7 separate regions of the Homo sapiens genome follow, and all the other regions are linked to region 2. The links are contacts of gene promoters, found by promoter capture Hi-C in blood cells and fetal thymus (Javierre and others, 2016). All regions are on one chromosome and are shown on one strand. The core of a region is centred on a gene start or on the middle of the fragment in contact, and the rest is flanking DNA. Distances in the headings are between cores, read along the strand shown. Region 1 overlaps TP53BP2 (tumor protein p53 binding protein 2). Region 2 holds the start of FAM177B (family with sequence similarity 177 member B). Region 3 overlaps WDR26 (WD repeat domain 26). Region 4 overlaps WDR26 (WD repeat domain 26). Region 5 overlaps CAPN2 (calpain 2). Region 6 holds the start of DEGS1 (delta 4-desaturase, sphingolipid 1). Region 7 overlaps CNIH4 (cornichon family member 4).

Region 1 (3,181 bases), core at 478-2,977, 1.1 Mb before region 2:
GGATGGAGTGAGGGCAGGGAGGGGTAACTGGGCTGAGGGGCCCCTCTTCAGCCTCTTCCTCCCCTTCAACGAAGTCTGAAAATCTCTGGCTAATATGGTGATCCCTAAGATTTCTTTGTACTTTAACATACGAAAGTTATTCTAAGATTTTGTATGTTTTGGCTTGAGTGCACCTTCTACACTCCTTCCAGATAGTAAGCTTTTGTTTGAAATTTAAGCTTCCATCCTCTCACTTTGACATAGGTGAGAGAAAATAAAAATCCCAGAATGTCTGAATGAAGTCTGCTTTTTCATAGTTTAATTTGAAGCCACTTTGCTTCAGTAAGCACGGAAGGAAGTAGGATGCTGAACTATGAATTTAAAACCTGGTGAAAAGCAAAATAGCATTAAAAGAATTTTTTTAAATGTACTTTGCATGTTTGATTCCTTATTATCTTTTAGATATGATAGTATTCAAAGATAATAATTGTCCACAGTTATTTTTAACAATTGGTTACAGTAAATGTTTGCTTAAAAGTTTTATGTACTAAACATTTGAAGCTAGAAAAAAAAGTTTTAAAATAGAGGTTAACAGTTTTTAAACAACCCTGTGCCTCGTAAGTTCTGAGGCTTGATTCTCTTTGAGTTTTAAACATAAGAAAAGAAGGACGTTTTATTCCACATTGGCCAAAACCAATCCACGTTACAGCCACTTGTTATTTTCTGGCCTTTTTGTTGCTGTGTCAAAATAATCCACATTTTCAAGGAGAAAAAAGGAAAACTAGAATTGGTAAAAGTATTATACTTTCTTTTTAAGATTCTGCTGTTCTCTTCCTAGGAAGGTGTCTTACCTTTTCCTTCTCGATTTAAGTAAAATAGAAGCAACTATCTCGTACATTCTTTAACAGTGGGATCGGCAAGTGTCATTACACTGTACTGCTTATGACTTGTATTAACCACAGTCAGATAACATTCAGAGAGCAACATTTTAGTCATTGCACATTGTGAAATGTATTGTCGCTTAATGTTTTTTAAAACTTGGCAATTTTCCACATCTGAGATAAAATGAAAGAATTATGTGGAGTACATATATCACACCTCACAACAGTAAACGTCTCTACTTTGTTGGGTGTGTTTAAGAAACCTGTTTTACAGGATACTGGATCTAGTCTTTAAAATTTTGCCTTTTTTTTTTTAAGTCCGATTCATTAAAAGTTTAAGCTGGTAGGATTTATCCTTGTTATACCTAAGACAGACTAATAATCTGTATTATTTACCTTAATTATATGCTTTCCCCCGAGGAGGCATTCTGGTGTGAAATGGTTAAGATGGCAGACTTTAAAGAAGCCAGCTTACCTGGATTTGCGTCCCAGCTCTGCCATTTGCCGGCTGTGTGCCTTGGTTTCCTTATCTGTAAACTAGGGATCATAGGGTTTTTGTGAGGGTTAATGAATAATCATTCAATATAGGTTAGCTGTTGTAGTTGTGGGCTGTGCTGTTGCTCACTTTAAGAGAGTGGAGTTTGCTGTACTGTATTAGATAGGCAGTCTAAAGACCAGTCTTGGCTAATTCTGATACTTGACAGAACGCTAGCCTATTTGCCACTTCTGATTATACTCTTAGTTTAATTCATACTATAACATATAACCCAAACGTAATTATGTTAGATTTTATAAAGTTATGTTCCTCCAACTTTGCTCCATGGTATTTGTTCACTTTGTGAAAGTTCATTACGCTGCATGTCAGATTCGTATACTTTTCTGAATAATGTTATACTTCAATAAAATGTGCCAAATCTATATTGTTAAAGTGCCTCTCACTAATTTAGGTGAGAAGTCATTCCTTCCCATTTGCTGCTGTTGTTCTCTTGCATAGACGAGGATCCTAAATTTTCCACCCATTTTCTTTGCAGGGTAAAAGGACAAACTTGCGTAAAACTGGCTCAGAGCGTATCGCTCATGGAATGAGGGTGAAATTCAACCCCCTTGCTTTACTGCTAGATTCGTCTTTGGAGGGAGAATTTGACCTTGTACAGAGAATTATTTATGAGGTATGATTATAATTAGTAAATTTTTTTTTTTGAGTCAGAGTCTCGCTCTGTCATCCAGGCTAGAGTATAATTAGTAAATTTTTAAAATATGACCTTGTATTTTGTTTTAAAGCTCTAATTAGAAAGCGACTGTAGAGAAATTGTATTTTAAAATTGTTTTCCTTTTAGGCATTGTGGGGTTGTGTTCAGGAACTCTTGGGCACGCTTTAGAATAGGCTATGCTGTTTTAAAGGTATGACTATGGAATTGTCATCATTTGGAAGTTCGGTTTTCACTTGGAGTCCTCTAGAGTACTTTTCTTTCTTAAGAGAGATCATTACTCCCCTTTAGAAATTGTTCATGTATGGATTTGTACTATACTGTATTAGGTTAGAGATGCGGTCTCTACTTTTAGAAGCCTACTATTTAAAATATTTTTAGTTGACCTTTTTTTTTTTTTGCTTTCCATAGCAAATGCAACTTCTACTTAGAAACTAATTTGTGGTGAGAAGCTGGGAGGATAAATAAACAAAAATGACTATAAGGATATAGTTTCTGGTACTTCCTTTTTTTAAAAAAAACCTTTTTATAGTGACTGCCTACTTAATGTGGTTTTTCTGTCTGTCTTATTTCTAGAATTGTTCTTGGTATAGTTTTCTTGGCTCCTATAGGTTTTAATTATGATTTTTAAAAGTGTCACAAGAGTCCATTTCTGTCCTCTTGACCCTAAAGGAGCCAGTTAGTAGTGACAGTTCAGGTGACAAGAAACTAGAGTGATGCTCACCCTTCTTCTTGATATAGGTTGATGACCCAAGCCTCCCCAATGATGAAGGCATCACGGCTCTTCACAATGCTGTGTGTGCAGGCCACACAGAAATCGTTAAGTTCCTGGTACAGTTTGGTGTAAATGTAAATGCTGCTGATAGTGATGGATGGTAAGATTTTCTTTTAAACTCCAGTCAAACTTCAGTTGTGGGAATCGGTTTATAAGCAGTTGTCATAGTGCTGTTGGAAGACAAAGAAGTATGTCAGTTATGTCCTTGAGCTGCTTGTAATCTAGCTGGAGAAATGTGGTATCTATTTTTGAGGAATTAACATGTGTTCATGTAACAGTCATCTCATTCCCATCCTGGAAGTAGGTGGAGTTTTAAAAAGTTTAGTAGTTAATGATAA
Region 2 (2,989 bases), core at 241-2,740:
GTTTAATTTTTTTTTTCTTTTTTTTGAGACACGGTCTTGCTTTTGCCCAGGCTGGAGTGGTGCAGTGGTGCAACCTCGACCTCCCACAGGCACGTGCCACACGCCCAGCCTTTTTTTTTTTTTTTTTGCAGTTTTTGTAGAGACGGAGTCTCCCTATATTGCCCAGGCTGGTCTTGAACTTCTGGACTCAAGCGATCCTCCTGCCTCAGCCTCCCAAAGTGCTGGGATTACAGGCATGAGCCACTGCGCCCGGCTCAGTTTAATTCTTGGGAGCACCTCTACCTTTTGTTTCTTAAAAACCCCAAATACAGACTATGAAGGATAGTTCCTAAGTATATAATGTAATTAACAGGCCATATAATCTCTCTGACCTTTTAAATATTGTATTACCCCAGGGCTCAGTGATTGGACCTCTTCTCTTTCCTATCTGCTTTCTTGATGATCTCCTTTGGCCCTGTGGCTTTCAATACTATCCACACACAGATGATTGTAACATTTATATTCTCCAGGTCAGACTTTTTCCCTGAGTCTCACAGATCCAACTACCTGCTTGACATCTCTTCTTAGTTGTCTAATGGACATCTCAATCCTAATTTGTCTAAATCTTTGCTCATGCTTTCAGTGCAACTCTCCCTCCATCCCCCCAACACACACATACTCACACATTTACCTCTACTCTTCTGGCAGCCTTCTCATCTCAATAAATGGCAACTCTGTTCTTCCAGTTGCTCAGGCCAACAACACTAAAGTCATTCTTGGTTCTTCTTTAATCACACCTCACATCAAATCTGCCAGGAAATTGTCTTGGATATTTCTGGAATCATACTTTTCATTACTCCACTGCTACCACCCTGGTCTATCATCTCTCACCCTTGCCGTCGTCTCTCACCTAGATTATTGCAGCAGCCTCCTAATTGGCCCCCTCCAGTCTACGCTCGAAAAGGAGCCAGAATTGTTAAATCCTAAGTGAGACCATGTCATGTCTTTGCTTAAAACTCTCCAGTGGGTTCCCGTCTCACCTAGAGTAAAAGCCAAACTCCTCATAATGGCCTACAAGGCTGTATACCTAACCCCTACGAGCTTTCTGACGCCATCTTGTACTACTCTCCCACCACTGACATCACTCTAACCCCACGGGCCTTCTTCCTGCAATTCCCTGACCACACAGGTCCGCCCTCTCTCTCTGCAGAGAGCTCTCTGCTGGCTGCTCTATTAGTCTTTCTTTCCTTAGACTGTTTCCTTGCTCATTTCCAGTCTTTAACTCAAATGGAGACTACACTGAGCTCCGCTTTCAAGGCAACCTCCCATTGCCTTCACCACCACCCTCTGCATCTTACCTCCTGTTTCATTTTTTCTCCTTAGCACTTACCAACACTGAACACTCCATATTCCACCTGTCTCTGTCTTCCCTTTCCTCCCTGTCCTGCCCCTTGGCAGAGGGGGAGGGTTTTACCTGTTATGTTCACTGCTGTATCTTCTGCCCCTATGATGCCTTACACGTAGCTGGAACTCAGTATTTGTTTAACAAATGAATCATACATTTAGTTAAGGTTAATGGGTGGGAGGAGTTATATAACAGATTGGAAAAATAAGAACAGACTTGTAACTGTCTTTATTTCCTGCTTTAGAAATTACTATCTTCATTTAATATTTTTCTGATTACATCTATCTACTAATCATTTCAATTAGCTCCTTCACTGAAACACAGCATTGTAATCTGTACCAAGAAAATAACACACTAGTTCTACATCTTGGCATTTAACTTCAATAAGTAAATATACTATTTTAAGTATGTAACACTTAAACATTTTCTAGAGCTCTTTCCATTTTCATTTATCTAGAAAATGTTTTCAAATGGACTGTTAAAATTCAGCTAAGAACTGATGTTGGGTCATTACGCTGGAGCTAATTAGCATTGCTTGCCTGGAGCTGCTGGTCCCCCTTCCTGCTTCCACCTTTCCTTTTTTCTGAGGTGGTTGAAAGGTCAAACCCCTGGTGAGAGGAGAGAACCAAAGCCCCACTGCGTGCCTCAGATGCAGAGTTTCACAGCGTGGTATTCACTGGGTATTCACCGACATTTCTCTAGGCCCCTTCACCTGAAGGAACTGGCCTGCTCCAATCAGTGACTTGCAGTGTGTGTGTCAGGGGCAAGGATAGAGTGAGGAAAAATGTGAAATAACAAATCACTGCCGCTCCTTGAGAATTACAGGAGCATCACCTGGCAGGATTTTTGTATCCTTATTTTCAGTATTAAACCACATACATGCACCCCACTGCCTGCATGCCTGTCCATGCCTGTCCCACTGTGGTGTTTCACAGCATTTTTTACATCATGGCAGATAGAGAAAATTAGTTGTTTGGAATTCTGGAGGCGACCAGCCTGGGAGCTCCAGCCACCTTAAGTGCTGCCCAGCTAGACACCCAGAAGGCTTCGATCAATAGCTTGAGACAAACTACTTGAGAAGCTCTGCATTAGAGAAGCAAATTCAAGTCTTGACATTTTCTCAGGGGAGTGCTCTGAAAGTGACTATATAAGCTTCTACCGACCTCAAGCAAATCACAGGCATTAGATACATTAAATTGCTGAAGTGATAGCTCTGGCTTTTTGGATATGCACAATCAAATATAGTTTTCTGTTTTATAATTTGTCAACTCCCCTTCCAGATTAACTATTTTGATCCCTTTATTACTATAACATTCTTAAATATTTAAATTTTAAGCAAATTATTCAAATGTCAAATAAAATCTTTAGATACAAACTTATGGTAACCCAAAGTGACATTCCAAGTTTATTTTACACACATTAAGAGATAAGAAACCCAGTATTTTCTAAAGCATGAGTACTCTAATTCTGAAAGAATTCTGAATATGGTATTATTTCTGCATGCATTTATACAACGCTAAAAGTGCTGCCTCAAGTTTGCAAGGAATAGAGTTTTCTACAGATTATTGTACAGCGATAATGATACACTCTTTAGCTTAGCGTACC
Region 3 (2,899 bases), core at 180-2,679, 1.7 Mb before region 2:
GGCAAAACTAGTTAGGATAGGCCCTTGGGCAAAAGAAAACGTAACATGGCATTTAGGTGGTTTGGGGGAAGAGTTTTAGGTAGACTAGAGTTGAGGTTAATTAAATAGCAGCCAGATCAAGGAGGAGCTTTTGTATTCTTTGCTAAGAAGTTTAGACTCTTATGCCAGTGTTTCCCAGAGTGTTTTTGCAGGAATAATGGGTATGCAGAATTAATAGGTGTTACATGTAAAGGGCTTTTGTTGCCAGATTAGCTTGGGAAATGCAGAGTTAATGCTTACATTCCAATATGAAACAGAGAGACTTTTAGAGACTGTAATTTTTAGATAGCTGTATTATAGTGAGTCCTCTGGGACTGTTTGGTTCTTTTGGTATGATGGTATTTTTGTTATGTCAAATACTGTCTGAAAAAATTATAAGAAAATATGTGTTCTTTTTGGCCGGGTGCGGTGGCTTACCGCTGTAATCTCAGCACTTTGGAAGGCCGAGGCAGGTGAGTCACCTGAGGTCAGAAGTTCAAGCCAACCTGGCCAACATGGTGAAACCCCATCTCTAGTAAAAATAAAAAAAATTAGTCTGGCATGGTAGTGCGTGCCTGTAGTCCCAGCTACTTTGGAGGCTGAGGCAGGAGAATTGCTTGAACCTGGGAGGCGGAGGGTGCAATGAATTGAGATTGCGCCACTGCACTCCAGCCTAGGCGACAGAGCAAGACTCCATCTCAAAAAAAAAAAAAAATTTATATATGTATATATATATATATGCCCTTTTTGAACGTGTGTGTGTGTTTTAATGGAGAGAAAAAAGTACATTTAAGAGAGCCTTAAAATTTGAGTTGATGTGATTCCAATGCCTACTTTCCTTTAACAGTTTTTCTTTGCCTAAAAAAGATGAATTTTACCCATTCCCCGCAGAATCCAAGCAAGGTCATATAGGCTCCACAAACATGTTATTTCCACTTTGAATAAATTAGTATAAAGGCACTGTGCTAATGAAGATATAGTATTGTTTTTGTTTTCAACTTTATCTTTTATAGGATTATATTTTTTTCATTCATGTACATAAAAGTTTTTGAGTTATATATATATATATATATATTTTTTTTTTTTTTTTTTTTTTTTTTTTTTAAAGACAGAGTCTCGCTGTGTCGCCCAGGCTGGAGTGCAGTGGCGCAATCTTGGCTCACTGTAACCTTCACCTCCCGGGTTCAAGCAATTCTCCTGCCTCAGCCTCCCGAGCAGCTGGGATTACAGGCACCCACCACCACACCCGGCTAATTTTTGTATTTTTAGTAGAGACAGGGTTTCACCACATTGGCCAGGCTGGTCTGAAACTCCTGACCTCAAGCTGTTCGCCTGCTTCAACCTCCCAAAGTGCTGGGATTACAGGCATGAGCCACCACACCTGGCTGAGTTAAATATTTCTAAAGGAGTTTGTCTTCAGTTTAAAAGCAAATCTTTGTGTTGATCTGGGGCAGTACTGTGAATGAAAATTTGTTCCTGGAAGATCTTGAGCTAGTCAGGAAGACTTGACTTGCTTAGTAAATTATTTAAACCATTTTGACCTAATGATATTGCTGATCTAATACAAATACCTCTTACCCACTTCCCAAAGAAGAATCAGAAGTAGTCGCATTGTTAACTATTCAATTTTATCAAAACAATGGTGATTTGGACTAGATAATTGTATGAATGATAAACTTAGGGTTCAGTGAAGAAACAATAGTGTAAACATAATCCATTTTGCAATGACATTTCTTAGGAGGGGAGGAATCTCCAACCTAATTTTATCAGACTAGTTCCCAACTTTTTTCAACTGCTGGTGGGTCATCCCATTGGAATTTCCCCCCCATCCCCCCAGGCTCAAAGCTAAACTCAATAAATCTTAAGACTAAAGTCTAAAACTTACTGTTTCTTCCCACCTTTAGTCAAATTCTTACTTCCTCTATTTCTTGTAAACATCCATCCCTATCCCCTAAACCAGAAATCTGGAGGTTGTCTTTGAAGATTTTTTGTTATTTTCTGTCATGTCATTTTTATCTCCACAATATCTTTTTTTCTTTTTATAACAGGGATCTCCCTATGTTGTCCAGGTCGGTCTTGAACTCCTGGACTCAAGCAGTCCTCCAGCCTCAGCCTCTCAAAGTATGGGCATGAGCCATAGTGTCCAGCCCAAAATATCTTTTGATTCTGACCTCTTTTAGTCCTTAACATCTTACGTTAGGGCCTCATTTTTTGGGAACTGACTGTGAACTATGTATGGCTCATTATGGTTCCATTGTCCCTTTATGGTTGCCTTATCCTGTGTCTTTCTGATTCATCTTCCACATTGTTATCCTAGTTCTCTTCCTAAAGCCAAATATCACACTGTATATTCCCTAGCTTACAAATTTTAAGTGGCTTTTCACACACAGGGAAAATGTAACCCCTTAGCCTACAACAAACATGTCAACTCTTGCAGCCTTGTCACTTGCCACGTCTACATTTGCACTTCACAGTTCAGCTTGCATAGCATACAATATGGGCTTTTAAGTGAGGCAGCCCAGATTCAAATCCCCATTGCACTACAAACAGGCATGTTTCTAACCTTTCTAAACTTTCGTTTCTTTCCCTATAATATGAGAGGGGGTAATATTCTAGATTTGTGAGAATTAAATGAAGTATTGTTTATGAATAGTGCTAGTAGTGGTTAGCATTAATAAGTGGTAGCTTTGCTGGTAGGATTGTAAAATGGTGCAACCACTTGGAAAACAGTTTGGCAGTTTCTCAAAATGTTAAACAGAGTTAGCATACGACCCAGAAATTCCACTCCTATGTATATACCCAAGAGAAATGGAAACATATGTCTACACAAAAACTCATACATATTCATAACAGCATTATTCATAATAGCCAAAAAGTAGAG
Region 4 (2,786 bases), core at 113-2,612, 1.7 Mb before region 2:
GAACCATTTCTGAAGCCCGATTGGGGCCAAACATTTACACCTTGCTTCATAGTAACCAGTTGAGATGAAGCACGTCGTTAGAACGTTGTTGGACACCATGTTGAATTATTCCCCCATCGGTTGTGAAGAACTGTGCTACATTCAGGCTTACCCATTGAACTCAGTATATATATTTTTTTCCTTCCTGTCTTTTGTCTGGCAGGATACCATTCTTGTTGCTCTTCTGTGTAATGAAGTTTAAATGCTTGTTTGGAAAACTTTATTTAACAGTTTAGAAGGCTTGATAGAAAGAGTGCATTAGTCTGAAGAGTATACATTGGATAGGAAAGAATTTCCTTCTTTTGTTTCTCCAAATCTTTCCGCCTTATTTAGCTTGAGATCTTTGCAGCTTGGTTCATGGATTCTAGCCTTGCCCGTTGCGCAGTATATACTGATCCAGATGATAAACCAGTGAACTATGTCAAAAGCACTCTCAATATTACATTTGACAAAAAGTTTTGTACTTTTCACATAGCTTGTTGCCCCGTAAAAGGGTTAACAGCACAATTTTTTAAAAATAAATTAAGAAGTATTTATAGGATTAAAGTGACTTCATTTGTATACATTTGGAATCTAAACCAGCTTAAAAACAGTTTCCTCAATGACTTAGATACACAGTATAACTGATGCTCTTCTGGAATACCACATGAGACATGGTCAGAAACAGTGCTTGGAAGGACATTACACAAGAAATTCAGAGTAATGCTTTGAAGATTTCCCCCCTTTTGTTTTATTCCTGAAGGAACATCAGTACCCGATCTTGAAGAAATTCAAGATTCAAAAAGAATTTTAAATACACCAACATGAGACATCAGTAGTCAGTTGGTTTTCAGTAAAGCTTGTTCCAAGTTGTTCTCAACTTAGGAAGTAATTTTGGTGTGATCTAGCAAAAGAGTAGGAATCAGCGATACAACCACTTTGGAAGTTTATAGTATAATTGAAATTATTAGAAGAATTCAGCAGGTTACAGACATACTTAAACTGGGATTAAAACCTCATAGTCATTTTTCTTAATTGCCCTTAATATTTTGACATATAGGGATACATAAATTTAAAGAATATTTTTTCTCAGTTTTTTCAGATATTGCCATACTGAACCTCATTCTAAACTGGTGCTGTGGATAGTCTTTCCCTCTCCCCTCCTGTTTTAGTTTAAGGAAAGGTTTCCTTCATGGAAAAGCACTTTTAATTTTGAGAATTTCACATTTAAAATAAGCCAAAAGCCTGATGTTCACATTGTGCTTTTAAACTCCGTAACAGCTGAATACAACATAACATAGTCTCCCTTGAAATTCCCTCCCTTTTTCAGTAGAGGATAAATAGGGTGACTCCAGCTGTTGGAATGAGAATGGGGATACCCCCAAAATAAGATTCTGGTGAAGAAAAAGTCTTGTACTAAGTTCCCCTTTAGGTGTAGCCAAGTCTATAATATAATTATGATCATGAATAGACTCCAGAATCCACAAAGAGAAGAGGGCTTGGATGTCAAAAATTCTTCCATTGTGGGGTAGGTGGTCGGGGATGGGAGAAAGGGAAAAGTCAGGGAAGGGGAGAAGAAAGAAAAACACATTTGGCCTTAAAATAGCATGCATTCTCCCAGAAGCCCATAGTAAAGAAAATGACAGATCGTGGTCAGCAGACTCTTATCAAATTGGTATGTAAAAGATTTCTTCAAGCTCCATTTTGCAGAGACCACCACTTAGAGAATCAAAAAATTCCTGTTTTGATACTTCTAAGTTAAAATATATGTTACAGTTTATCTGGTACTTCATTTTTCTTAACTAAAATTACTTTTTACTTTAAGCTTGAATAAAAATCTTCATTGGTAACTGTATGTAATTAAGTGGCAACTTCTCTTTACCTCAGTATAGTTAAAAACCATTCATATTTTAAGTGATTCATGTATACCCTGAAGCCGTTAATACACCCCAGTCTCTATGGTAACATCACTAAATGTGGGCATAGAAACTCCACAGCTGTTTACAAATTTGGTTACAGTGTGCTACGGTGCATTTGTAACACTCAGATTTGTGCCCATTCAGGGGCAATTTGGCACTCAGATTCTACTCTACTTCACCTAACCACCCCTAGATCTGAGTTTTCAGAGTGCTTCTGAAGTACAGTTTAAAAACACTTTTTAAAAAGTGGAGTAAAAGTGAGGCACATTTTACAAGAACATAACTCCTATTAAAACGGAGTAACAACTATGCAAAGGTTTCTATAGCAGCTAGGTGAGTTTGTTTTCCGGGTCTGTCTTAACTGGCAGCTTCCTGTACATACTGGTACTTATTTGCTGTAAACGTCTGTTTCATACATTTGCCATGCAGTGACTGTGCTCGAAAGGTGAAATCAATGGTAAAGAAGCCTAGGATTTTATGGTATGAGAAACTGATCGCAGGATTTTCTGATCCATAGCTATTAATTGAAAACTTCTGATAGTGCTGTAGGCTCTATAGTAGGCTTAAGAGTGAGTCTTATACTATGAAGCCAGCCACAAGATACTAACAAATGTATAAATTGAAAAGTACCAATACTTTTTGCACATAGATCAAAATAGAGTGGAGAATTTGGGCTCCAAAAATCAGGTTAGTAGGCTCATTTCCATGTGCTTAAAAATGTTTTTGTTGTTATGCATTGATTAAGGGCTAGAGCAAATATAAAATTAAATGTCTTTTTCCTCCAAATAATTGGTTATTAATGGTAAAATGTTGGACTTGGGGATTACTGAGATTAGTATGTGGGTAGTA
Region 5 (3,092 bases), core at 119-2,618, 1.0 Mb before region 2:
TTGTTTTTGAACTGTCCACCTTCACCCTGCCTGTGTCCTTTGCTGACACATAAGTGTTTTCTTGCCTGTTTCTGTTCTCATGGTCACAGTTGCTTCATGTTGTTAACCATGCTGCTGCTGTTTGATTTTTTGTTTAGCTCTCAATCGTCTTGAAGATCAGATTCTTCCTGGATATATGTGAGCAGAAGCTTTCCTGGTAAACTCATAGTAGTTCTCTCTCCTTCCAGAGTAAAATAATTTTTATTGAGCCTATGGCCACCTAGCATCAAGACTGCATGTCCCAGCTTCCTTGCAGTCAACAGAGGCCTTGTGATCAGAGTCTGGCTGGTGGGATGTGTGACCGGAAATGGCCTGTGTGCCCTTAAAGGCAAGGGGCCCTTCTTCTGTCAACCTGTTGGTGGCATGTGTTTGTGGTGGCAGGCTGTCCCAGGTCCCTTGGATGAGGGTGACCCTTGAAGGTCCGGTGGGCATCATGGATGGGGGGAGGCTGGGGGAAGCGTGATCAGATAGTGACATGGTAGGATAGTAGGAGGCACCGTCCTAGCCGTGGACTGCTGGAGCTGGGATTGCTATACGACAGAAAGACATACCTCGTATAAACCAATGTTGTGTGGGGTCTCTGCAGCAGCATTATATTCCAGCAAATAGAATGAACAGCCTCATGCTGACACATTTGTTCCCAAAGCCCAGCAGTCTCCTGCTTTGCTGGTCTACCACTCGCTTGTGTCCTTTTATTGATATCCAATTCTGCTAGGGTCTTACCCTAAGGGCTGAGCTGAGACATTTGATTTCTGCCTAACCAACCCTGCACCAGAAAGGAAGCACCTGGAGGAGGCTGTTGAGACCTGGCTTTGCCTGCTTACTGTGCCAGGCGGCTCCAAAGGAAACTTGGATTCAAGAAGGCACAGAGGGCAGAGCATCCTACTGCATTTAATTTTACCAATTAGTCTTTGAAAGGGGAATGAAAAGGAGGTGTCTGTATTAAACCAGCACCTACTTTATTTTATAGCTTTACCAAATCTTGTGTTATATGGTATAAGATGAGTGTTCACATATTCTACAGACAGATTAAACTAGGAACGAAAATGCAGTTATAAAGGGTTACCTGCTTCTTCTAATGCCTTCCGCATTTCATAGGAATTCATGGTACCAGACCTGTCAACGTCGATTTCTCGGTAAATTTTCTGGAACACATAAGTTAGCTGTAAGAACTATGACCCAAAGCAAAGCTGGCAAGTTACCTCCCTAGTATGTGCTGAGTGGGGATGAAGTTTTTCCAGCTCTGTGCCTCTAGTTTGGCCGTGGAAGAATCACTTATGTTTCTGCCTTAAATAACTAATAGTATTTTGCTTCTGTCTGTGAGCTGGTTTGTAAATATGCCCATCAAATCAGCCAGCCAACGCCCATAGGTCCATGTTCTTGTCTTATATAATTTTTGTACTTTAGCTGTCAAAAACCCTTTTCAGGAAACCCTTGATGGTGGCCTTTAGATGATCCCAATAATCAGGAGGAAGGGAATAGGCCATTTCACCTGCGAAGTCCTGGTTGGTTTTTTGTTTGCATTTCCTCAGCCCCATCTTTACTCACTCTGAGCTTCATTATGGGTAAAATCCCAATCCCCTTGGAAATGTTTCTCCACTCTGTGCAGGAGTTGCTGCATCTTAAAGCATATGAACAGAATGTTTCCCAACACAGATCCACCCGCATCTCTGGGATCTTACTTGGTATTTTTGAATCTTCGTCCAGAGAATGTAGAACTCCTTCAGCCCCAGCTTGCCACTCCCGTCCGACTGCCTTCAGTCAAGGAAAGCCCTTGAGTGTGGGTCCATTTGCACATAGTGTCACCTAGTTTGTCTTCTCAACTGGATCTTTTGAATATCATAGCATATACACAAGGAGGGTTTGCAGAAGGATCCTTTTCCTGCTTTTCCCACTGGCTAAACCTCCATTTAAAGGATTGGAGGAAGGGCGAGAAAGACCTGCTGGCTCCCTGCCGAATCTGGTTGCTGTTTTGATCTAGGGGTGCTGTGGAGGCCCCAGATACTACTAAAAATGAGGTATTGGATGACATGCAGAGGGCTTTGGATGGCTTCTAGTGGCTAGGCCCTTGCTGTTTTTTTTAAAGTATGTGGAGTATATCTAAGAGGCCTTTGGTGAAGGGAGCTAGCAGGTGTACACCATGAATCCACTAGATAAAACTTCACAGAAGTGGCCAGGCATGGTGGCTCACACCTCTAATCCCAGCACTTTGGGAGGCCAAGGTGGGCAGATCACCTGTGGTCAGGAATTCGACACCAGCCTGGCCAACACGGTGAAACCCTGTCTCTACTAAAAATAGAAAAATCAGCTGGGCATGGTGGCGCGCACCTGTAGTCCTAGCTACTAGGGAGGCTGGAGGGGGGAGAATCACCTGAACCTGGGAGGCGGAGGTTCGAGTGAGCTGAGATCATGCCACTGCCCTCCAGCCTGGGTGACACAGTGAGACCCCGTCTCAAAAAACCAACCAACCAACTAAACAAACAAACAGAAAAAACTTCACAGAAGCTTAGGCTGCCCCTTACCACCACTTCTCACTAAGCATTGGAAACAAGGGGGAAATGGATGACTAGTTTGCCTTGGGGAAAGGTGGGTGGCCTGGGAAGGAGCTAGAGCAAAAGGGAAGTAGGATCCTCATGAAAGTAGCCCTTATCTAAATCAAGAAGACGATCTTATCCAACTTACAAGGGATGTGAAGGACCTCTTCAAGGAGAACTACAAACCACTGCTCAAGGAAATAAAAGAGGATACAAACAAATGGAAGAACATTCCATGCTCATGGGTAGGAAGAATCAATATTGTGAAAATGGCCATACTGCCCAAGGTAATTTACAGATTCAATGCCATCCCCATCAAGCTACCAATGACTTTCTTCACAGAATTGGAAAAAACTACTTTAAAGTTCATATGGAACCAAAAAAGAGCCCGCATCGCCAAGTCAATCCTGAGCCAAAAGAACAAAGCTGGAGGCATCACACTACCTGACTTCAAACTATACTACAAGGCTACAGTAACCAAAACAGCATGGTACTGGTACCAAAACAGATATAGATCAA
Region 6 (2,835 bases), core at 109-2,608, 1.4 Mb before region 2:
AGAGGTTGCAGCGAGTGGAGATCGCGCCACTGCACTCCAGCATGAGCAACAGAGTGAGACTCAGTCTCAAAAAACAAACAAACAAACAAACAAAAAACAAACACGTGCAGTCTCAAAAAACAAACAAACAAAAAACAAACACGTGCTCTGGAAGAGGCAACCGAATGCGCATTAGAATCCCCCTAGCATTTAGTCACGCGTTCTTATTTCATTTTTTAAAACAGCGATAATACCAACCAAGTAGAATTACCAAGAGGATGAAATTGGGTAATGTTTGTAAAGCATTCCACACAATCCCTAGCATATTAGGAGTAGCCTGGGAGAGATGAGCATTCTCTATGTAACACAGAAGGCCCGAATCCTCTGGAGAGTTAAGGCCTCTCAATTAGCTGTCAGGGGACCAGCAGGCCACGCCACATATTTTCCTTATTTGGCAAGTCTTCCATTTTCAGTCTTTTCATCCACAAAACCGAGATGGATGAAAAATGCCTACGAATCCGCCGTTCTTACGTCCCAGGCTTGTCGTGAGGATCAATGGGACAAGCGGCGTGAACCGACCAGGGCCCATCAAGTCCGAGAAGCCCCGGGGGGCATATGGAGGGACGCCGGCCCCCTTAACGGGCCCAAGGCCGGGACTGCGGCCGCCCCCGCCAGTACTGCCCGCCGGCGCCCGACACCCTGAGCAGGGCTCGCTGGTAGGCCCAAGGATGCCCAGGACCACACCCTGCCTAGCACTCAGGCAGCCCCAAGGCCGGCACCCGCTCACCTCGGCCCGCTCCGGAGGAGAGGGAGTGGTGAGAGGAAAGGGCGCCCACCTGAGGGCACAGGAATCTTCTAGCGAAAAGATCTACTCAAGGCTGGCACAGCCGGGGACACCCTTCGCCCCAACCGGCCGGCGTGGGCCTGGCGGGGACTCCCGCGCTCGGGGACGCGCCTGCGCCTCTTCGCGGAAGGGTCGGAGCTGCGCGGCTCCGAGGACCCGTCCCTCCCCCCGCTCCTCGCCCAGCCTCTCCCGCGCTGACCCGCGGGCTGGCGGCCCGAGCGGCGACGGGACGCGACGGGGAGCAGGCTGCTAACGGGCCTCCGGCGCCCACGACCGCGCAGGGCCCGCGAGGGGAGAGCGCGCCCCGGCGCCGGGAGGCCACGCACGCACATAACGGGGCGCCCGCTGGCCCTCACCCAGGATCTCCCGGCGCCGGTCGGCGTGCGGCTGGTCGGTGTAGACCCACTCGAAGTCTTCCCGCGAGACGCGGCTCCCCATGGCGACAGCGGTGGCTTGCAGACTAGCTGTCGGCTCTCGCTCCCAGCCGGCTGCTCAGAGGTGGCGGCGGCGGCGGCGGCTCCCCGGCTGGTGTGGTGTCGGCCGGCTGTGGCGGAGCGCGGAGGAGACGGAGGCGTGGGCGGAGTCCCGAGGCCCCGCCCCCCCCGGCCCGCCCGCCTGCCTCTCTGGGTGGAGGGCGCGTGGCGCTCCCAGGCCCCCGTGCGGGGCCGGCTCTCAGCGATTCTGGGACGCGGGGTTCTGAGCTTCGGTGACTCGGCCACCATCCAGGATGCCGCGTTCTTGCGAGTGCCCGCCCCTGCGGCCTGCTGCGCCGGAGCCCGGAGAAGATGAAAAAGGAAGGAATGGTCTCAAGTGAGATAAACCTGCCGCCCTAACGCCTCCGCGAGGGGAGCACCGGGCACGGCTACGGTCACACCGAGTCTGGAGGCCCCGGAGCCCTTCTTAAATGGCAGCTGGCCTAAGTTTTGTTTAATTTTTAAAAAGCAAATTAGCCATTGAGTCATATTTCGCTGCCTTCTGGAAATAATACCTCAGGGAAAAAATGCAGAGTGCGTGACAATTAAAAGCTAATCAAGTAAAAAGAAAACACCATTATTAAGAGGGGGTGATGATGTGGGATTTGTTGTTGTGCTTGAATTATTCTAGTGTGACCACTTCTGTTAAGAGATGATTGCTCAACCTTGCATCTACCTGTCGCAGAAGTAATCAACCACAACCTCTTCCTGAAAGAAAGGTTTTGAAACGAAACTAATTTTGTTTCAACATTAGTTACCACGTCTACATCAAAGAGCAACTTAAAGATTACAAAAAGAAGATAACCAAAGCAGGTGTGCCTCCTAGTCAAAGAACATGCTGTGCACGCGCACACGGCACACACACACACACAAATCTGATCGAGCCCCTAGATCTGACTGTTAATTTATAGAAAATAGAAAGGACATTTGGCCGGGTGCGGTGGCTCACGTCTGTAATCCTTGCACTCTGTGAGGCAGAGGCGGGTCCATCACCTGAGGTCGGGAGTTCGAGACCAGCCTGATCAGGATGGTGAAACCCCCGTCTCTACTAAAAATATAAAAAAATTAGCTGGGCGTAGTGGCAGGCGCCTGTAATCCCAGCTACTCAGGAGGCTGAGGCAGGGGAATCGCTCGAACTGGGAGGCAGAGGTTGCAGTGAGCTGAGACGGAGCCACTGCACTCCAGCCTGGGGGACAGACGGAGACTCCCTCTCAAGAAAAAAAAAAGAAAATAGAAAGGACAGAGGAATGTGTTAAACTAGGCCGTGGGGATGAAACTAGCAAGATCCAACTCTGGGAGACTATATGGGACAATGTCTGGGTTCTCTAATAAATGAAACTCAAGGCAAAAAAAGAGAAACCTGTAGATTAAAAGGAGTTTAAAAGACATACCAACCAATTGCAACGTGTTGACCTCATTTAGATTCTGATTGAAATAGTTTAAAAACATTGACATGAAATAATTGAACTCAGATATCAATTGGATATGTGATGATATTAAGGAATTATGAATTTCTTAAGTGTGATAATAGTATTATGG
Region 7 (3,152 bases), core at 252-2,751, 1.6 Mb before region 2:
AGGTTAAGCCTGACTTCTAGCTTTTCAAAGGTTTAATCAAATCGTATACACAGGAATTTTTTTTTCTCCTTTGCTCTATTCTATGCATCTATGATGGATAAAGGAAAAGGTGGCATGTTCACCTCTAAAACACACAGGAATAATTTAAAACAGGACTATATAAGGCTTCCAATGTCTGACAGCCAATCTATCATATTAATTCTTACTTCCAGTGTGTTATAACTAGAAGACTGATACAACTTTACCATAATAGACATTTAGCATGCTGGAGAATGAGCATCACACCTAAATTACTTATTGCCAAGAAAGATCAGCACAATTTGGATAAAAGTTGCTGAGAGCTGCTGCTAGTGGTGTGATCCCCCAAAGACCATGAGTGGGATGGTCGCTGAGGCACATATATTAATGCTTATAACAGGCAGTGGAACTCCACAGCTGTATACTACTAGGGAAGGAAAAAAATATGAAACAGAGTTTCACTATTGTTGCCCAGGATGGAGTGCAATGGCGCGATCCTGGCTCACCACAACCTCTGCTTCCCAGGTTCAAGTGATTCTCCTGCCTCAGCCTCCCAAGTAGCTGGGATTACAGGCATGTGCCACCACGCCCACCTAATTTTGTATTTTTAGTAGAGTCGGTGTTTCTCCATGTTGGTCAGGCTGGTCTCGAACTCCCGACCTCAGGTGATCTGCCCTCCTCGGCCTCCCAAAGTGCTGGGATTACAGGCGTAAGTCACCGTGCCCTGTTTTAAGCATGTGGATAGCCTCAAAGCTAAGGCATAACTAAGATGCAACAGGGTAGATCTACTGTAGTTCAGACAGAAAGCTGATTCAATGACATACATAAATAATCTACACAGCCACAAGGAATTTACATAATCCCCGAAAGTTCCACAATGTCAATGCAAAATCCTATAGTATAGTAATATCTCACCCTTCAAAAACAAATATGGCATCTAGGAAAATACCAGGACTTTAAACTCACCTATAAAGATACATGAAGAAGCAGAGCAAGTGGAAACCAAGCTTGATCATGGCTTCTTTCATGTGTGACTTCAGCTGCCCTCGATTGTGTATTTCTGTTGGATCAAACACTCCCATGTTACCACTCGGCACCATAATGTATCTGATAAATTAAAGGATACACACATTAGAAGGATAATCAAATCATAGGCATAAGTATTCAAATATAAGTAGCCAATAATAATCGACTTTTAAAAGTGAACCAATCAGGCCCAGTACTGTGGCTCATGCCGGTAATCCCAGCACTTTGGCAGGCCAAGGCAGGTGGATCACCTGAGGTCAGGAGTTCAAGACCAGCTTGACCAACATGGTGAAACCCTGTCTCTACTAAAAATACAAAAATTAGCTGGGCATGGTGGCAGGCAACTGGAATTCCAGCTACTCGAGAAGCTGAGGCAGGATAATCACCTGAACCCGGAAGGCAGAGGTTGCAGTGAACCAAGATCGTGCCATTGAGCCCCAGCCTGGGTGACAGAGCAGAACTCCATCTCAAAAAAAAAAAAAAAAAAAGTGAGCCAATCATAGCAGCCTTAAATTCATACCACATATGTACAGAGTAGTATGATAATGTCATGGGCTGCCACTTAGTTTCCTTTTGAAAGTTATAATACTGTTAATCTTCTGCCCTGTAAAATAAATACAGTAACATTCCAGAAAAGGATATTTTATGCACTGAAACCCTTTTACTCATCTGTAGAAAACTACCATACCAGTCACATCTACAGCCCTTTTCCATTAGACAAAGGTTAAAGAAGGCTTCAAACCCAAACCAATTTTATTAAGTTCTTAGAAACTTCATTATGGAAACAGGGAAATTAAGGAAGTTAGGTTACTTTGAGAGGATCAATGAATTTAAGTGTCTGGGCTTCAACATCCAGACTGTGTCATCTGTGTAACATATATGTCCTAACCTAGCACTGTCCATGAATTCTTCCTGCTCTCACGTCTAAGCTTCTTCTAGTACAACCTTAGTTGTCACACAGCTTCTCAATTATCACTTCTTTGAAATGCAAAGGACTCTCTGAGTTCCACAAATCTGAAATTCTCCCTTAAAACCCCAGTAGCCCGACTATAGCTGAATAGAGGGTATTTTCATTTGAATATCCAGATAACATCTCATCCTTGTCTAATTTCTAGGTTATCTAATAAGAGTGTCACCATTTTCTTGGTGGTCCTTAAAAACTTCCTCTTACCCAACTGGGACTTCTCTCTTCCTCATCTTTCATAGCCAGTCCATCAAACCCTTGTCCAGTCTTTCTTCCTACCACCACTTACTTAGCTGTCTTTTTTTTCCTTTTTGTATTTTTGTTTTATTTTTAATTTTTGTGGGTACACAGTAGGTATATATATTTATGGGTTATATGAGAGATTTTGATACAGGCATGCAATGTGTACTAATCCCATCAGGGTAAGGCTGGGCACAGTGGCTCACACCTGTAATCCCAGCACTCCAGGAGGCCGAGGCGGGAGGATTGCCTGAGGTTGAGTTCAAGACCAACCTGACCAACATGGAGAAATCCCATTGCTACTAAAAATACAAAATTAGCCAGGCGTGGTGGCGCATGCCTGTAATCCCACCTACTCAGGAGGCTGAGGCAGGAGAATCGCTTGGACCCGGGAGACGGAGGTTGCAATGAGCCAAGATTGCGGTATCACACTCCAGCCTGGGCAACAAGAGCAAACCTCCGTCTCAAAAAAAAAAAAAAAAAATCACATCAGGGTAAACGGGGTATCCATTACCTCAAGCATTTATCCTTTGTGTTACAAACGATCCAGTTATACTTTTTTAGTTTATTATTATTATTATTTTTAGACGTAATCTCGCTCTGTTGCCCAGGCTGGAGTGTAGTGGCAAGATCTCGGCTCAGCGCAACCTCCTCCTCCTGGATTCAAGCAATTCTCCTGCCTCAGGCTGCGGAGTAGCTGGGATTACAGGTGCCCAACACCACCATGCCCAGCTAATTTTTGTATTTTTAGTAGAGATGGGGTCTCCCCGTGTTGGCCAAGATGGTCCTGAACTCCTGACCTCAGGTGATCCTCCCACCTCGGCCTCCCAAAGTGCTGGGATTACAGAAGTGAGCCACTGCGCTCATCTCTAAAACACACAGGAATAATTTAAAACAGGACTAT

Evidence for each region. The method cuts DNA at HindIII sites, captures the fragments that hold promoters and counts their contacts. A CHiCAGO score of 5 or more calls a contact.
Region 1: a fragment that was not itself captured here is called in contact with the fragment with the promoter of FAM177B in region 2 in 1 of 17 cell types (monocytes); the score reaches 6.0 in monocytes.
Region 3: a fragment that was not itself captured here is called in contact with the fragment with the promoter of FAM177B in region 2 in 1 of 17 cell types (neutrophils); the score reaches 8.3 in neutrophils.
Region 4: a contact is called between a fragment that was not itself captured here and the fragment with the promoter of FAM177B in region 2, in 1 of 17 cell types (neutrophils). The highest score is 13.6, in neutrophils.
Region 5: a fragment that was not itself captured here is called in contact with the fragment with the promoter of FAM177B in region 2 in 1 of 17 cell types (neutrophils); the score reaches 5.1 in neutrophils.
Region 6: a contact is called between the fragment with the promoter of DEGS1 here and the fragment with the promoter of FAM177B in region 2, in 1 of 17 cell types (neutrophils). The highest score is 5.6, in neutrophils.
Region 7: a fragment that was not itself captured here is called in contact with the fragment with the promoter of FAM177B in region 2 in 1 of 17 cell types (neutrophils); the score reaches 12.2 in neutrophils.

The regions. Positions count from the first base shown.
Region 1 is chr1:223,792,151-223,795,331 of GRCh38, reverse strand. TP53BP2 (tumor protein p53 binding protein 2) reads left to right here. Exons shown (of 18, transcript NM_001031685.3): 14 at 1,892-2,029; 15 at 2,810-2,943. Among named protein-coding and RNA genes, the nearest start is that of TP53BP2, 52 kb to the left of the region's middle. The HindIII fragment of the contact is 3,013 bases long and covers 221-3,181 here.
Region 2 is chr1:222,735,703-222,738,691 of GRCh38, reverse strand. FAM177B (family with sequence similarity 177 member B) reads right to left here and starts at 1,490. Exons shown (of 6, transcript NM_001394345.1): 1 at 1,370-1,490; 2 at 671-788. RefSeq lists an enhancer at 1,707-2,248. The HindIII fragment of the contact is 3,071 bases long and covers 1-2,538 here.
Region 3 is chr1:224,405,346-224,408,244 of GRCh38, reverse strand. The region is part of intron 7 of WDR26 (WD repeat domain 26); the gene reads left to right. Among named protein-coding and RNA genes, the nearest start is that of MIR4742, 8.5 kb to the right of the region's middle. The HindIII fragment of the contact is 3,893 bases long and covers 1-2,899 here.
Region 4 is chr1:224,386,930-224,389,715 of GRCh38, reverse strand. WDR26 (WD repeat domain 26) reads left to right here. Exons shown (of 14, transcript NM_001379403.1): 14 at 1-2,786. Among named protein-coding and RNA genes, the nearest start is that of MIR4742, 10 kb to the left of the region's middle. The HindIII fragment of the contact is 966 bases long and covers 880-1,845 here.
Region 5 is chr1:223,768,539-223,771,630 of GRCh38, reverse strand. It overlaps CAPN2 (calpain 2), which reads right to left. Exons shown (of 21, transcript NM_001748.5): 17 at 1,722-1,790; 18 at 1,106-1,184. Among named protein-coding and RNA genes, the nearest start is that of CAPN2, 58 kb to the right of the region's middle. The HindIII fragment of the contact is 2,356 bases long and covers 191-2,546 here.
Region 6 is chr1:224,181,763-224,184,597 of GRCh38, reverse strand. DEGS1 (delta 4-desaturase, sphingolipid 1) reads right to left here and starts at 1,358. Exons shown (of 3, transcript NM_003676.4): 1 at 1,180-1,358. The coding sequence starts at 1,261. RefSeq lists silencers at 613-692, 853-1,232, 1,333-1,532 and enhancers at 519-1,348, 1,683-1,772, 1,349-2,179, 2,033-2,182. The HindIII fragment of the contact is 20,781 bases long and covers 1-2,835 here.
Region 7 is chr1:224,369,256-224,372,407 of GRCh38, reverse strand. CNIH4 (cornichon family member 4) reads right to left here. Exons shown (of 5, transcript NM_014184.4): 4 at 985-1,125. Among named protein-coding and RNA genes, the nearest start is that of CNIH4, 14 kb to the right of the region's middle. The HindIII fragment of the contact is 948 bases long and covers 1,028-1,975 here.